Regions from separate parts of the Homo sapiens genome. Here all the other regions are linked to region 1. Evidence: promoter capture Hi-C in 16 types of primary human blood cells and fetal thymus (Javierre and others, 2016). All regions are on one chromosome and are shown on one strand. Each heading gives the region's core, a stretch centred on a gene start or on the middle of the fragment in contact. The rest is flanking DNA. Distances are from core to core; before and after follow the strand shown. Region 1 holds the start of ZNF777 (zinc finger protein 777). Region 2 holds the start of ZNF398 (zinc finger protein 398). Region 3 overlaps ZNF282 (zinc finger protein 282).

What was found. The method cuts DNA at HindIII sites, captures the fragments that hold promoters and counts their contacts. A CHiCAGO score of 5 or more calls a contact.
Region 2: a fragment that was not itself captured here is called in contact with the fragment with the promoter of ZNF777 in region 1 in 9 of 17 cell types (naive CD8 T cells, total CD4 T cells, non-activated CD4 T cells and 6 more); the score reaches 7.2 in naive CD8 T cells.
Region 3: a fragment that was not itself captured here is called in contact with the fragment with the promoter of ZNF777 in region 1 in 3 of 17 cell types (naive CD4 T cells, naive CD8 T cells and M2 macrophages); the score reaches 5.6 in naive CD4 T cells.

Annotation. Positions count from the first base shown.
Region 1 is chr7:149,458,456-149,463,270 of GRCh38, forward strand. ZNF777 (zinc finger protein 777) reads right to left here and starts at 2,607. Exons shown (of 6, transcript NM_015694.3): 1 at 2,360-2,607. RefSeq lists silencers at 1,268-1,627, 1,638-1,717, 2,008-2,077, 2,248-2,587. The HindIII fragment of the contact is 6,109 bases long and covers 906-4,815 here.
Region 2 is chr7:149,144,522-149,149,336 of GRCh38, forward strand. It overlaps ZNF398 (zinc finger protein 398), which reads left to right and starts at 2,932. Exons shown (of 6, transcript NM_170686.3): 1 at 2,932-3,245. The coding sequence starts at 3,222. It overlaps LOC107986856 (a long non-coding RNA gene), which reads right to left and starts at 2,840. Exons shown (of 2, transcript XR_007060581.1): 1 at 2,462-2,840; 2 at 1-1,831. RefSeq lists enhancers at 562-1,135, 1,136-1,709, 1,710-2,283, 2,377-2,426, 2,858-3,431 and silencers at 2,737-3,376, 3,041-3,212, 3,507-3,656, 3,797-3,846. The HindIII fragment of the contact is 4,715 bases long and covers 1-4,218 here.
Region 3 is chr7:149,199,870-149,204,684 of GRCh38, forward strand. The region is part of intron 2 of ZNF282 (zinc finger protein 282); the gene reads left to right. Among named protein-coding and RNA genes, the nearest start is that of ZNF282, 6.7 kb to the left of the region's middle. RefSeq lists an enhancer at 3,104-3,604. The HindIII fragment of the contact is 4,592 bases long and covers 72-4,663 here.

The DNA.
Region 1 (4,815 bases), core at 1,357-3,856:
AGCAAGTTAGTCTCTCTGAGTAATGCAGAGGTTTAACTGAAACAATGAAACAAAACAAAACAAAACAAAACAAAACAAAACAAAACAAAACCCTCCAGTATAGTAAACAGAGCCAGCAGACCAAGGCATCTTTACCAGCTAGACAAATCAGAGCTCAAAGGAAAATACTATTTCTTTGCTATTATTAGACTGTCTCTCTCCATTTCCGGATTTGGAGGACTGTAGAGGGGCCACAGGAGGGTGTTCCCTCCCTCGCCTCCCAAATAAAAGCCCTTTGCTATAATTTAATCCATCCCGGTAAACCTGCCGCTTATCTTACCCTAAGCAGAAAGAAATGACCAAAGAGAGGGAGGGAGCTGTAAATATACCTAAAACGAATAAGCTCAAATTCTCAAATTCCTGGTAGGGGGTTGGAGGGAGAATTCTTCTGAACCATATTTGTAGGATTTAACGGTCCCTCCTTCCCCGACGGATCAGGAGTGGATGGATTCTCCAGGATTCATGCCACATTAGCAGAAGCATCCATAACCACAGTATCTGACTTATTAAGAAAGTCATGGCATTTTTTTGAATGACCCAGTATGGTTCACCCAGCATTATATACCATTCAAGGGCCCCGAAGGCCTGAGCCCAGAGTAAGGCATGTAAACATCTTCGTTTGATTTTATTTTCTCATGAGTTTTTTTTTGATTAAAGAATTGGGATGCTTTTTAGAAAGCTATATATCCTGCCTCCTTCCTGTGTACACAATAGGAAACTGAGGCTCAAAGGCACTGACTCCCATGCAGTAATCCTCTCACTAGCACGGCCAGGGCGTCTCAAAGAGCAGGTCTGCGGGAGGATCTGAGGGATGATTTTTTAAGAGTGTCTTCCTGAAGAGGAACATCAGCCCCCAACCCCTGAGAAGCTTACTCCCCAGACACCATCTGTCAGGGCACTCAAAGTTTAGCCTACGACCTTCCAGACGCAGAGGCCGGAGGCAGAGGCTGGAGCTCAGAGGGTCACCTGCTCCCACCGCGGAGATGCCCAGCTGGGCGCTGCCCGGCCTCCCCCGCCGCCCCCGACGGGCCGCGTCCGCTGCCAGGGCGGCCCAGCCCCTCACCCAGGGGCGGCCGCCGCCAGAGCCACCCCCTCCCCGTCCAGGCCCGCAGCCCTCTGGGCAGGCCTTTCTGGGGCTGCCGCACCGTGCCACGGATGCCTTGCTACGTGACCTTGGGGCCGGCAGGGCGGGTCGCCGCCAGGTGTCTGTGCCTCAGTGTCTCCGTTCTGCGAAATGGGAGAGCCGCGTCAGCGCCGCGCCCGGGCCGGGGAAGGCTCCGCGGGGCCGAGCTCTGCGGAAAACGTGCCGGCGGCTACCCCGACGGACGCAGCGCGGGCCCCGCAGGGAGCGAGCGCGCCTCCGGGCGCCCCACCTCGGGGCCGCGTGTGTGCCGGGCCGGGCGTGAGAGCAGCCTCCCTCGCACGGACGGCGGCGAGGCCCGTAGCCCTCCCCCACCGCCCGGGTCAAGACGCGCGGGCCCCCTCCAGGGCGCCCCCACCCCCCGCGCCAACGTCGTAGCGTTTCTGCCCCTTACCGAGATCCCAGGCCGGGCCGCCGAGCCCGGGACACGCAGGCCGTCCCCGGGGCCCCGAGGCCGCGCGTCCGTGCGCGCGCGGGCCGCCCTCACAGGAGCCGGGGCCGCCTCGGCCATGGCCCTGCGCTGTCCGGCCCGGGCCCCCGGAGTCGCCGCCGCTACTGCCGCCGCCGCTACTGCGCGCGGCCCCACGCAGGCCCGGCCGCCCGGCGCTCTCCGCAGGCGGCGCCGGCCCAGCCCTGTCTTCCCCGCCGGGGCTCGCGCGCGGCCGTCGGGCCCCGGCCTGCTCGGGGCGCGCGGGGCGAGCGGGCGCGGGGTCGCGGAGCCCGAGCGGCGGCGTCGGAGCTGGGCGCGCGGCTGTGCGGGCGGCCCGGCCGGCTGCGTCCCGGCGGCGAGCTGGGCCCCGGCCCTCAACGGCGGCCCCCGGCCCGCGCGCCGCCCCTCTGCGGCCGCGGCTGGGACCCCAGCTCCGGCCCCGGCCCCGGCTGCGAGCTGCGCTGCCGTCCCGGCGCCTCTTTAGCAGGGGAGCTGCACAGCAGCTGCCATGTTGCTACAAACTGCATCCTGGGAGGCATGTCCCTCTCAGGCCGTTTAAAGAGAAACACTCCGAGGCTCGTCGGAGGCTGCCGGAACCCAGACAGCTCCATCTACAGCCGGTAGGAGCGAACAGTGTCGAGCGAGCCGCCCGGCGGCGACGGACACGCCCTGAGCCCGGGCCAGCCCGTCGTGGAGCCCGGGCCGAACCGCCGGGGCCTCCCACCCTCCAGGACCCTCCGGCCTCTCACCTGGGGTCCTCGCCTGCCCAGGCACCCTCGGGCGAGGCCGGGAGGCGCGCGGGCGGAGGCGCAGTCGGAGCGCGCAGCCCAGGCGACGTGCTGGGGTCTGGAGGCGGCTTGATTGGCTCCGACAGCCTTCCTCCCGCCGATCCCCTGCGCCTCTCACACCCAGAACCCGGGGTCGTTCCCTTTCAAAACCTGCGCTCACAAAGGGATCTAAGAAACCCGTCACACCAGAGAAAGCCCGGAGTTCATGTGACCAGCTCAGTGCAGCCCGGGTTCCAGGGACGCGGGCTGTGCTTCCAAGGGGAGCCAGGGGGTTGGGTGCTTTTGTGAAATGCCCGAGTGTTGTTTTCGACATGAAAGGACCGAATTCCTAGAATCAGACCCTGCTGGGGCTGGAAGTGGCCAGACGGGTCATTTAGGAGGAAACTGAGGCCGAGTGGGCAGCGACTTGTTTACCCTCAGTCACAGTATGAATGAATGCTCTTTGTAACCATGAGAAGTCCCAAAAGAAATGCAGGAGCTTAGAGTTGAGAACTCCCCTTCCTGGACAGGTCCACTTAAACATGTATTAATTGAATACCTACGAGGTGGCGAGAACTGGGGATGAATTGAAAAGGAAAAAAAAAGAAGAAACTATAGGCAGGCGTCCTGGTTACTAGCGATGAAGCCCAACTGGAACTAACTTAAGTGAGGGAAGACGGCGGGGGGGAGCAGAGGACATTGTGTTTACCTAATGGAACCCCAGGAGTGGAGCTGGTCTTGGAAGGCAACAGGACTCAGTATGCTGGCAGCTCAGATAATGGAAAGTTATGGCCAGACGTGGTGGCTCATGCCTGTAATCCCAGCACTTTGGGAGGCTGAGGTGGGCAGATCACGAGGTCAAGAGATCGAGACCAACCTGGCTAACGTGATGAAACCCTGTCTCTACTAAAAATACCAAAATTAGCTGGACGTGGTGGCGCGGCCCTGTAGTCCCAGCTACTTGGGAGGCTGAGGCAGGAGAATCTCTTGAACCCGGGAGGCAGAGGTTGCAGTGAGCCGAGATCGCCCCACTGCACTCCAGCCTAGGGGACAGATCAAGACTCCGTCTCAAAAAACAAAAAAAAGGAAAGTTACAGATAGAGGTAAGGCCAGAGCTATGCATCCTGTCCCCTCCCTTCCCGGAGGCTAGAGTTCTCACCCAGGTCTTTATGCATTAACTAACATGTGTGCATTCGTAAACAATGCACACTACTGGTTTTGGTATTTTTACATTTTATGTGAATGATATTATCCAGTCCCTATCCTGTTGCAACTTGCTTTTTTCCATGGGTCATTTTGTTTTTGAGATACAGACATGTTTAAACAAGAATATCTGGTTCATTCATTTTACCCACAATATAGTATTTCATTGAATACATAAACTACAGTTTACGTTCCATTCCCCCTAGAGGAATGAGAACAAACCTGCTGCCAGCGACATCTGCATGCATGTCTCATTGTGCACTGCTAAAGTGCGTCTCTAGAGACGCCTAGACATGGGACTCTGGATGGCAAGAGCACCTTCATCTTTCCCCGGCTTCCCGAACTGCTCACTGAAGGGATGGTGCCTACTTACACACCCACTATCGTGTGATTTTCTCTTTCCCCATCCTGGCTCATACTTACTGATAATGGACTCAGAACGTTTGCCGACATGATGACTGTGAAATGGTAGCTCATTATTTTAATTTGTATTTGTATTTCCCTGATTAATGAAGTTGGACATCTTTTCATGTTTACTGACATTTGGTTTCTTCCTCTGTGAATTTCCTCTTCATATCATTTGCCAATGTTTCTGTTGTGAGATCTTTTTCTTATTGGCTTATAGGTATTTCATTAAAAATCTATTCTGGATCTTAATCATATCACCAAACATTTAATGTGATTACTAATACGATTGCATTTAAATCTACCATCTTACTAGTTATTTTCTGTGTGTTCCAGGTGTTCAGTGATACCTCTCTCTCTCTCTCTCTCTCTCCCCAACTGCCTGCTTTGAGGTTGAGGTTTTTTTTTTTAATTCTATTTTTATATTAGTATTCTATTTCTTAGTAATTTCTATTTTTCACCATTCTCTTACTAGTTACATATAATTTTAAATGGTTGTCCTCAGTTTTACAATATACATCTTTAATTTTCTAACAGTCTACATAAATTATGCCACTTCACATATGGTGTGATAACCTTACAACAGGTTATCCCTACCATCTTTTATACTGTTGTTAGCATACATTTTATGTTTATGTATATAATCTCCACAATACCTTGTTAGATGGGCAGATGGCAAATATCTTCTCCCAGCCTGTCTTTTAACATGTTTCATGGTAAGTGTTGCACAAACATTAAAATTATTTAAAGTATTATTTATATGCAGTGTAATGCACAGATTTCAAGTTTATGGCTTTTCTAGCTTTGACAAATGCAAAGACTTAAGTACT
Region 2 (4,815 bases), core at 611-3,110, 310 kb before region 1:
TGGCCTTGAATTCTTGGGCTCCAACAATCTACCCACCTCGGCCTCCCACTGTGCTCGGCTACTACATTTTTTTTTTTCTTTTTTGAGATGGAGTTTCACTCTTGTTTCCCAGGCTGGAGTGCAATGGTGCAATCTCCGCTCACTGCAACCTCCTCCTCCTAGGTTCAAGTGATTCTCCTACCTCAGCCTCCTGAGTAGCTAGGATTATAGGCACCCACGACCACGCCCGGCTAGTTTTTCTATTTTTAGTAGAGATGGGGTTTCACCGTGTTGTTCAGGCTGGTCTCCAACTCCTGACCTTAGGCGATCCACCCACCTCGGCCTCCCAAAGTGCTGGGATTATAGGCGTGAGTCACCGTGCCCGGCTTCTCGGCTACTACATTTTAAATAATAAAATTATACAACAGAATTTTCTTTCCAAGAAAATTCAGATTATTATTTTTTTGTAATCTACTCATATTGTGAGTCAGAGAATGGCAATTTTCATTATTAAGCATTCACCATCTGACAAATATGTATATTCAGGTAAATCCCAAATTACGGACTGCATATGTAGCCACAGGCGAAAAGTAACTTAGTCTGCTCAAGAGCAGTTGCCCCAACAGGATAGTTCTCATACTTTTGTGATTTACAGATAGTTATACTGTTATGGGCATTGACTTGATTCATGTGTTGAAATACAGGTTTAGCAGGGTTTGATTCATACATGTTTGAAATGAAGACTTCCTGGAAAACCAGGGTCATGTGCTTATCCTATCACCACACACATGAAACCGCCCCAACAGGGTTCACAAAAATTGCATGCAGGTTCTGGACAGAAATATAGTTATAATTAAGCATTAATCAGGCTGCACTTCGGCCTACTTCCTTGTTGCTAATAGTCACAAGGCACTAGATACTGACATTTGCATCTCTATTGTTCCTATAGATAGGATTTCAGACATCAGACTAAGAATTGATTTGCATCCCTGTTGTTCCTGTAGACAGGATCTCTGACATTAGAATCATAAGGCTTTTGTTTAAGGATCGCTTAAGATGTTTTTCAGACCACGAGTTCCGGTGAAACAGTTGAGTTCAACCAGTTTGAAGACCCCCCACAGAGGAATGGGATGAGCATGAGAATGTAGTTTCTTCATCTCCTTGTACCACGATTTCACCAGCACTCTCCCACCAATCAGTCAACTCCATTACCCTTACAAACTCTAACCCCAAATTCCCAAATTCCTAGCAGAGATGGATGTGAGGCTTCTTCCTGTCTCCTCCTTAGGTGGCCCTATGATTAGACCTCTTTCTCTGCTGCAACCTGGTGTCTCTGCATATAGACTTGCTATGTGCATTGGGCAAGGAACCTACTGCTGTTACACACACTCTGTTGACTTAAAACACAACCTCACCAGAAAACACTTTGTTCTCGCAGGTCCTTTTTTTTTTTTTTTTTTTTTAAGATGGAGTCTAGCTCTGTCGCCCAGGGTGGAGTGCAGTGCTGCCATCTCTGCTCACTGCAACCTCCGCCTCCTGGGTTCCAGCGATTCTCTTGCCTCAGCCTCCGGAGCAGCTGGAATATCAGGTGCACGACACCACGCCCGGCTAATTTTTGTATTTTTTAGTAGAGACGGGGTTTCACCATGTTGGCCAGGCTGGTCTGGAACTCAGGTGATCTGCCCGCCTCGGCCTCCCAAAGTGCTGGAATTACAGGCGTGAGCCACTGCGCTCGGCCTGTTCTCGCAGGTCCTTTTGCTCAGACGCAGCAAACCGTAACCCCAAGCTCGATCTCTGCTGCTCTCAGGAATTCCACTTCCTCCAGCTTGGGCAACATAGCGAGACCCTGTCTCTACAGAAAAATAAATAAGTAAATAAATAAATACAAATAAATAAAACATTAGCCGGGCTTGGTAGCTGCGCCTGTAGTCCAAGATGCTCGGGCAGGCTGAGGGGAAGGATCGTTTGAGCCCAGCAGTTTAAGGCTGCAGTGAGCCTTGTTTGTGCCACTTGCACTCCAGCCTGGACGACAGAGGGAGACTGTCTCTAAATAAATCAATAAATAAGGCCGGGCGCAATGGCTCACGCTTGTAATCCTAGCACTTTGGGAGGCCAAGGCGGGTGGATCATTTGAGGTCAGGAGTTTCAGACCAGCCTGGCCAACATGGTGAAACCCCGTCTCCACTTAAAAAAAAAAAAATTAGCTGGGCATGGTGGTACATGCCTGTAATCCCAGCTACTTGGGAGGCAAAGGCAGGAGAATCGGTTGAACCCGGAAGGCGGTTGCAGTGAGCCGAGATCCCGCCACTGCACTCCAGCCTGGGCGACGGAGTGAGACTCCGTCTCTAAATAAATAAATAAACAAAAATTAAGAATCCTATTTCCAGACCAGGCCCCGGAGAGTCAATAATCCGAGATGTGAAGGAGACCTTAAAATATTATTGATCCCAACACAGGCCGCGTGGGACCTGAACCGCCTCACCTTGGCAACCACATTTGTAATTTCCGCAAATGATCTATATCTTCTTCATTCCAAAATTGTGCCTCTCCGTCACTCATTCCACCCATAGGCTCCCTTCAGCCGTGTCCCCCTTACTCTCACCCTGCACATTTCCGCTGTTCTAAATACGGCTGCCCTTCAGCAGAAGCTGTTGCCTGCAGACGGCGCCTGCGTATCGAGCCTCCGTGAAGAAAATCACTCCCCAGAATGAGCCCGGCTTTGCGGCTGGGTCCTAAACTGCGGTGAGCTGAACCTTCTCGTGGGAATGTGAGAAAGCGGAACACACGTGGGCCCCAAATAACAACCCTCCCCACACCGAAGCCCAAGAGCTGGGGGGGAGGGGCGGAGGCGACGCGGGGGGCGCTGGCCGCAGGGGCCGGCAGGGGGCGCGCTGGCCGCGGTGGCTGGGCAGCGCGAGCCTGCGGCGCGTCTAGGCCCGCGCGGTTCCCGGTGCACTCGCTGCCCACAAAGCGCCAGCTGAGGGGCCGCTGCGGGTGGAGTGCGGCGGAGTCGGCCTCGCGACCCCAGCTTGATCCGCCGCCTGCTGCACCGCGCCTCCGCCGCGTTCCTGCGCGTCCCGAGCCCCGACGGCCGCGTGAGTCCCGTCCGTGCGGGGAAGGCAGGGCCGGGTCGGCGCCGCCTGTGGAGAGGACCCGGCGGCCGGGCCTGCTTGGAGCCGGGCGCGGTGGCAGCGGCGGCAGCGGCGGCGACTTCCGAGGCCCGGGCTAGACAGCGCAGGGCCATGGCTGAGGCGGCCCCGGCCCCGGTAAGGGCGGCCGCGCGCGAGTGTTGTGAGCCCCCGAGACCCAGACCCCGAGGGAGGAAGGCGGGCGGGCAGGGAGCTGCCAGGCATAGGCGCCGTTCTCGGGTCCCGCCGGCCACGTCGCCTGTCGCCCGTGCTTGGCGGCTGCAGCCTCGCGTGAGGGGACTTAGCGGGTGGGTGTGAAACCGCCCACCCGGGGACACCAGGCTGGGCCGCAGGTCTGAGGGGCACTCGCAGGCAGCTATGAGACCCGGGGCCCTGCAGTTGGGTTGAAGTCGAGGGGGTGCCTGCTGCGTGTCAGCCCCACGCCTGCCCGCCAGACGCGCAGCGGGGTTGGGCTGGGGAGCCGTCAGCCATTCTCGCGGCCGCGGGAGCGTTCGTCACCAGCAATCTGAGCGGTGGCGCGGGCGGCATTTAAGTGTGCGGAGGCGCATTCCCGCCGCGCTGCGTGACGCCTGGGCTCCCGGCACCGGACTCGGGACACGCGGGAGGCCCTCCCGAAATAGCTGCCGAATGAATGGTGCGGACCCGGAGGCTGGAGTGGCCTCGCGTGCGTGGCGGTTCATTCGCGGGTGTTTGCCAAGGCCTGCGGGGGCCGGCAGCGGCCAGTTGCCAGGGCGACCGAGGCGACCGGGCCGCGCCTGCACGCAGCCCCGTAGAATGAGAAGGGGACGGTCAGGCCGCGGGGAAAGCACTGATCGCATTTGCCACCCAAGAGGTCTTTGGTCACCTCTAGGAGAGCAATTGTACTGGGTCAGGAGCCACCCTGGCACATGAGGGGTGACTGGGAAAAGGAGGAAGAGCAGCGATGGGTAGGGGGTAGAGCAGAGGGAAGTGCCACCTCCACTCTTGGACCTGTTTTTCTTTTTTCCAACCTTTTTTTTTGTGTATAGGTGGGATGGTAGCGATGATCCTGTGTTGTGCCAGTCCTGGCTAATAGAAATATAAGGGAAGCCGCATACAAAACTCTAAATCAAGCTTGTCCAACCCGCGGCCCCCAGGCCGCATGCGGACTAGGACTGCTTTAAATGCGGCCCAACACAAATTCGTAAACTTTCCTAGAACATCATGAGATTTATGCACGGACCTTTTTCTTTGTCTTTTTTTTTTTTTTTTTTTTTTTTTTTTAGCTCATCAGCTATCATGATCAGTATTTTATGTGTGACCCAAGACAGTTCTTCCAGTGTGGCCCAGGGAAGCCAAAAGATTGGACACCCCTGCTTAAATTCTCTAGGCGTCACGTTTAAAAAGTAAAAAGCCAGGCGCTGTGTTGTGCACGCCTGTAGTCCCAGCTAGGCCGGGGGCTGAGGCGGAAGAATCACTTGAGTCCAGGAGTTCGAGGCAGTCCACACCGCGTCTCTAAAATAAAAAAAATTTTTGAGAAGTTAAAAAATAAATAGATGAAATTAATTTTAATTATATATCTAACTCAATATATGCAAAATATTATTTCAACATGTCATCAATTTATTTATTTATTTATTTTTTGAGGTGGAGTCTCACTCTGTCCCTCAGGCTGGAGTGCAGTGGCGCCATCTGGGCTCACTGCAACTTCTGCCTTGCCGGTTCAAGC
Region 3 (4,815 bases), core at 1,118-3,617, 260 kb before region 1:
GCTCAAAAGGTAAAGACTCTTTTTTTTTTAAGTGATAATCTCAATGTTATTACCACCACCACCATAGTAAAAGCTTCAGCCTAGATCACTGTCTAGCCAGTGATTAGATTTTCAGTTGTTTCAATTTTTAAAAACATTTTTTTAGTTTGAATTAGGATTCAAGTAATGTCCACACATTATGTTTGAGATGTCTCTTAAGTCTTTTTTAATCTGCGGGCATCTCTTCCATCTATTATTTTTCCTTTCAGTTTATCTGGAAGGAATTGGGCCACCTGTCCTGTTTTGCATCTCGCTGTCTGGATTCCACTGATTACGTCCCCTGTGGTCTCATTTAACATGTTCCTCTATTCTCAGTATTCCAGTTGATTGGTAACTGGATCTTTCTCTCTGGAACGCACTCTGATCAGGCCTTTGCTCACTAATGATGTCCGTGGTGTTACAGCCAGTGGTTGCTTCTCAGTCTTCATCCTCCCTGTCCTGTCAGCAGCATTGTGTGTAGGTGACCACTCTCTCCGTGAAACCCCTTGCCGTGGCTTCTGGGACACCTCTCTCTGCTGAGTCTTTTCCTACCTCACCAGCTGCTGTGTCTCATTGTTTGCCAATTTTGCCTCCTTTGGCCAGCTTTCTAATGCATGGAGTGGGCCAGACCTCTGTCTTGGCCTTTTGCTCTTTATTTACTCTCCTCCCTCATGACTGCATCCCGTCTCACAGTCTTTATTATTTATTTATTTATTTATTTTTTTTGAGACAGAGTCCCGCTCTGTTGCCCAGACTGGAGTGCAGTGACGTGATCTTGGCTCACTGCAACCTCTGCCTCCAGGGTTCAAGTGATTCTCCTGCCTCAGCTGCCCTAGTAGGTGGGATTACAGGCATCTGCCACCATGCCCACCTAATTTTTTGTATTTTTAGGGGAGACGGGGTTTCACCATGTTGGCCAGGCTGGTCTCGAACTCCTGACCTCAGGTGATCCACCTGCCTGGGCCTCCCAAAGTGCTGAGGTTACAGGCGTGAGCCACCACGCCCAGCTAGTCTCACATTATTAAAAGCAATCTGTATGCTCTCACCTCCCAAATAGATGCTTTCTCTCCCCTGCTCCCTTTCTATATGTTGCCCAGCTTTCTTTCTGGAATGCCAGATTCACATTCCTACCTATTAATTCATTTGGATGTCAGTAAATCTTAGATTTAACATGTCCAAAGTGAACTGCGGATCGCCTGCCTGAGACCTGTTCTACCTGAAGTTGTCCTCATCTCCGTTGATGACGGATGGTTCCATCCTTTCAAGTGCTCAGGCCAAAGCCTTGGAGTCATACTTGTCTCCTCTCTTTCTCACACCCTACTTCCAATCTATTAGTAAATACCCTGATTTTTCTTCAGAATATATCCACAACCTGGCCACTCCTCACCACCTCCACTCCCATCGCCATCGTCTGGTCCCAGGCACCATGGTCTTTCATCTGATTTTTGCCATGGCCTCCTGGTGGGTCTCATTGTCTTCATCCTTGTCCCCCCACCCATACAGTCTATCTCAACACAGCAGCCAGAGTGATCCTTTGAAAATGTGAAGCAGTCACATCACACCTCTGCTTAAACCTCCCAAATGGCTGGGCACGGTGGCTCACGCCCATAATCCCAGCACTTTGGAAGGCCGGGCAGGTGGGTCATGTGAGATCAGGAGTTCAAGACCAGCCTGGCCAACATGGTGAAACCCCATCTCTACTAAAAATACAAAAATTAGCTGGGCATGGTGGCAGGCACCTGTAATCCCAGCTACTCAGGAGGCTGAGGCAGGAGAATTGCTTGAACCTGGGAGGCAGAGGCTGCAGTGAGCTGAGATCTTACCACTGCACTCCAGCCTGGGTGACAGAGTGAGAATCTGTCTTAAAAAAAACCCAAAAAACACCTCCCAAATGGCTTCCCATCTGATTAGAATAAAAGCCCATGTCTGTTTATGGCCCACGCTCTCTTCCCCTGCCTCTCTGACCTCCTCTGCATCCACTCCCTCCTGCTCACTCCCATCTGTGCTGTTCTGCCAGCACACCACGTGCGCCCCCAGCTCAGGGACTCTCCACTGAGAAGCTCCTGCCCTGAATATCTGCATGGCCGTCCTCGCCACCTCTTCCATCAGGGTCTGCTGAGGTGCCACTTCATCAGCATGCCCTTCTACAACCATCCTATATGAAAGAACCACGTCCCCCAAGCACACTCGTCTCCCTGCCCTTACTCGAATTTTCTACAAAGCACTTTTGCCATTGACATCTTAAATATTTAAGATATGCTTCTTTTTTTTTTTTTTTTTTTTGAGACAGAGTCTTGCCCAGGCTGGAGGGCAGTGGTACAATCTCGGCTCACTGCAACTTCTGCCTCCCAGGTTCAAGCGATTCTCCTGCCTCAGCCTCCCGAGTAGCTGGAATAACAGGCATGTGCCACCATGCCCGGCTAATTTTTCTTTTTTTTTTTTGAGACGGAGTCTTGCTCTATTGCCCAAGCTGGAGTGCAGTGGTGCGAACTCGGCTCACTGTAAGCTCTGCCTCCCGGGTTCACACCATTCTCCGGCCTCAGCCTCCCAAGTAGCTGGGATTACAGGCACACATCACCACGCCCGGCTAATTTTTCTATTTTTTTTTAGTAGAGACGGGGTTTCACTATGTTGGTCAGGCTGGTTTCGAACTCCTGACCTCGTGATCTGCCCGCCTTGGCTTCCCAGAGTGCTGGGATTACAGGTGTGAGCCACCGCGCCTGGCCTAATTTTTGTATTTTTTAGTAGAGACAGGGTTTCACCATGTTGTCCAGGCTGGTCTCAAACTCCTGACCTCAAGTGATCCATCCGCCTCAGCCTCCCAAAGTGCTGGGATTACAGGCGTGAACCACTGCACCTGGCCTTATGATATTATTCTTAAGTTTTGTATTGCTTTTTTTGTCTTCTTGGTTGGTTTTCCCCAACCAGAGTGTAAATTCTGCTTGGTTGCCTGCTGCATCCCTGTGCCTGGAATGGTACCTGGCTTAGACTGGTATGCAAAAAATGTTTGTGGAGTGCCTCTCTCCAGCTGGAGAGCTAACAGCTTCCTGGCAGGGACTGGGTCTTGTGTGTCTCTGTGTCTGCTGAGGCAACCACCCCAATGACTTTGCCAGAGGAGTTGTTTGACGTTACTCATTGAGGCTTCACAGAACTGAGTTGTAATCGTGGCTCTGGTTCCTCAGCAAAACATTTCCTGGCACTGCAGCCACAGAGGCTGGTTTTTAGTATGGTTTTGCATATGTCGCTTGTCTAGCACAATCAGCATTTACGTACACACTGCCCTTTTCTTTTGTCTGTTCTGTGTGTCTCAGCGCATATCCTTGTGTGGCACTGTGGCGTGTTCTGTGCGCTGCATTAGGCATTAGAGGAGACTTGACTTGACAAGGGCTCTTACAGAATAATGAAATGGTTTTGGGGTCTGGAATCAGAGGACTTGGGTTTAAATCCTGACTTTGCCACTTACTGGTTTTTTGTTTTTTTGGGACGGTCTCACATTGTCATCCAGGCTGGAGTACAGTTATACAATCATAGCTCATGCAGCTTTGAACTCCTGGGCTCAAGCAATCCTTCCACCTCAGTCTCTCAATTAATTAGGACTATAGGCACATGCCACCACACCCAGTTAAGTTTTTTATTTATTTTTATTCTTTGTAGTGACAGGGTCTTGCTTTGTTGCCGAGGCTGGTCTTGAACTTCTGGGCTCAAGCAGTCTTCCTGCCTTGGCTTCCCAAAGTGCTGGGATTATAGGCTTGAGCCACTGCATGAGGCCTGCTTGTACTGATTTTCCTATCATTGGTCAAATGTATTTTTTGTTGTTTCTGAGCCTCCTTAATTCCTCTTTTGAAGGAAGTGAAGTATAAACAATTCAGTAAATTCCCAGCTGGTTTCTCTGAGTTTCAGGGTTATTATCAATAAAACGAAGATGATAATATGCTTACTTCATGGAGTTGTGAGGATTAATTAATTTTATTTGTGGGAAGACACTATGTAGATTATTGTGTTAGTTACCTATTGCTGTATAACAGATTACCTCAAAATGTAGCAGCCCAGCCTAAAAAATAATTATTTATCATCTCACCATTTCTGTGGGTCAGGAACTGGGGAGCAGCTTAGGTGAGTGGGTCTGGCTCAGAGTCCCATGAGGTTACAGTCAAGCTGTTGAATGGGGCAGCAGTTATCTGAAGGTTTGACTGGGGCTGGAGGGCCTGATTCCGGCATGGCTCACTCACGTACCTGTTGGTGGGAGGCACGTGGTCTTGGGGGAGGAAGAGGAAAAAGTAAAAAAGACACGTGCCAGATGGACGGGAGGCAACATAATTACGGGAACCAAGCAGGATAAAATTCTAGAAAGATGATTTGACCTTTCGAAGAGGTCAGAATTGTTGAGGATTTCAACAGAAGGTCGCTGATGATCTTCCAGAGTGTGGTTTCAGAGAATGGAAGGTACAGAGGCAGAATCTAAGGGGGTAAAGAATGCATAGATGGTGAAGAGGAAAAAACAGAATGTGTCTCTTGGGATGTTCCCAGTGAATGGGGAGGGCAGAGTGACCTGAGGGAGCAGCGTGTTGAGGGAAGGTTTTTCTGAGGTTGGAATGACCCTGAAGGACGGAGCCAGTAGAGAGGGAGAAACTGATGACTTAGATTAAGCTTCACAGGCAGGAGGTGGAGGAAGAGGTGAAGGGCACATACCGTCGGCCTTGGATTTGCAAGGAGAGGGGCAAGAAAGGAGCTTGCCGGCGCCTACCTGAGATCAAAGACAGACAGATGTGGGAGGTCACTTAAAGGTCTGGGAGAATG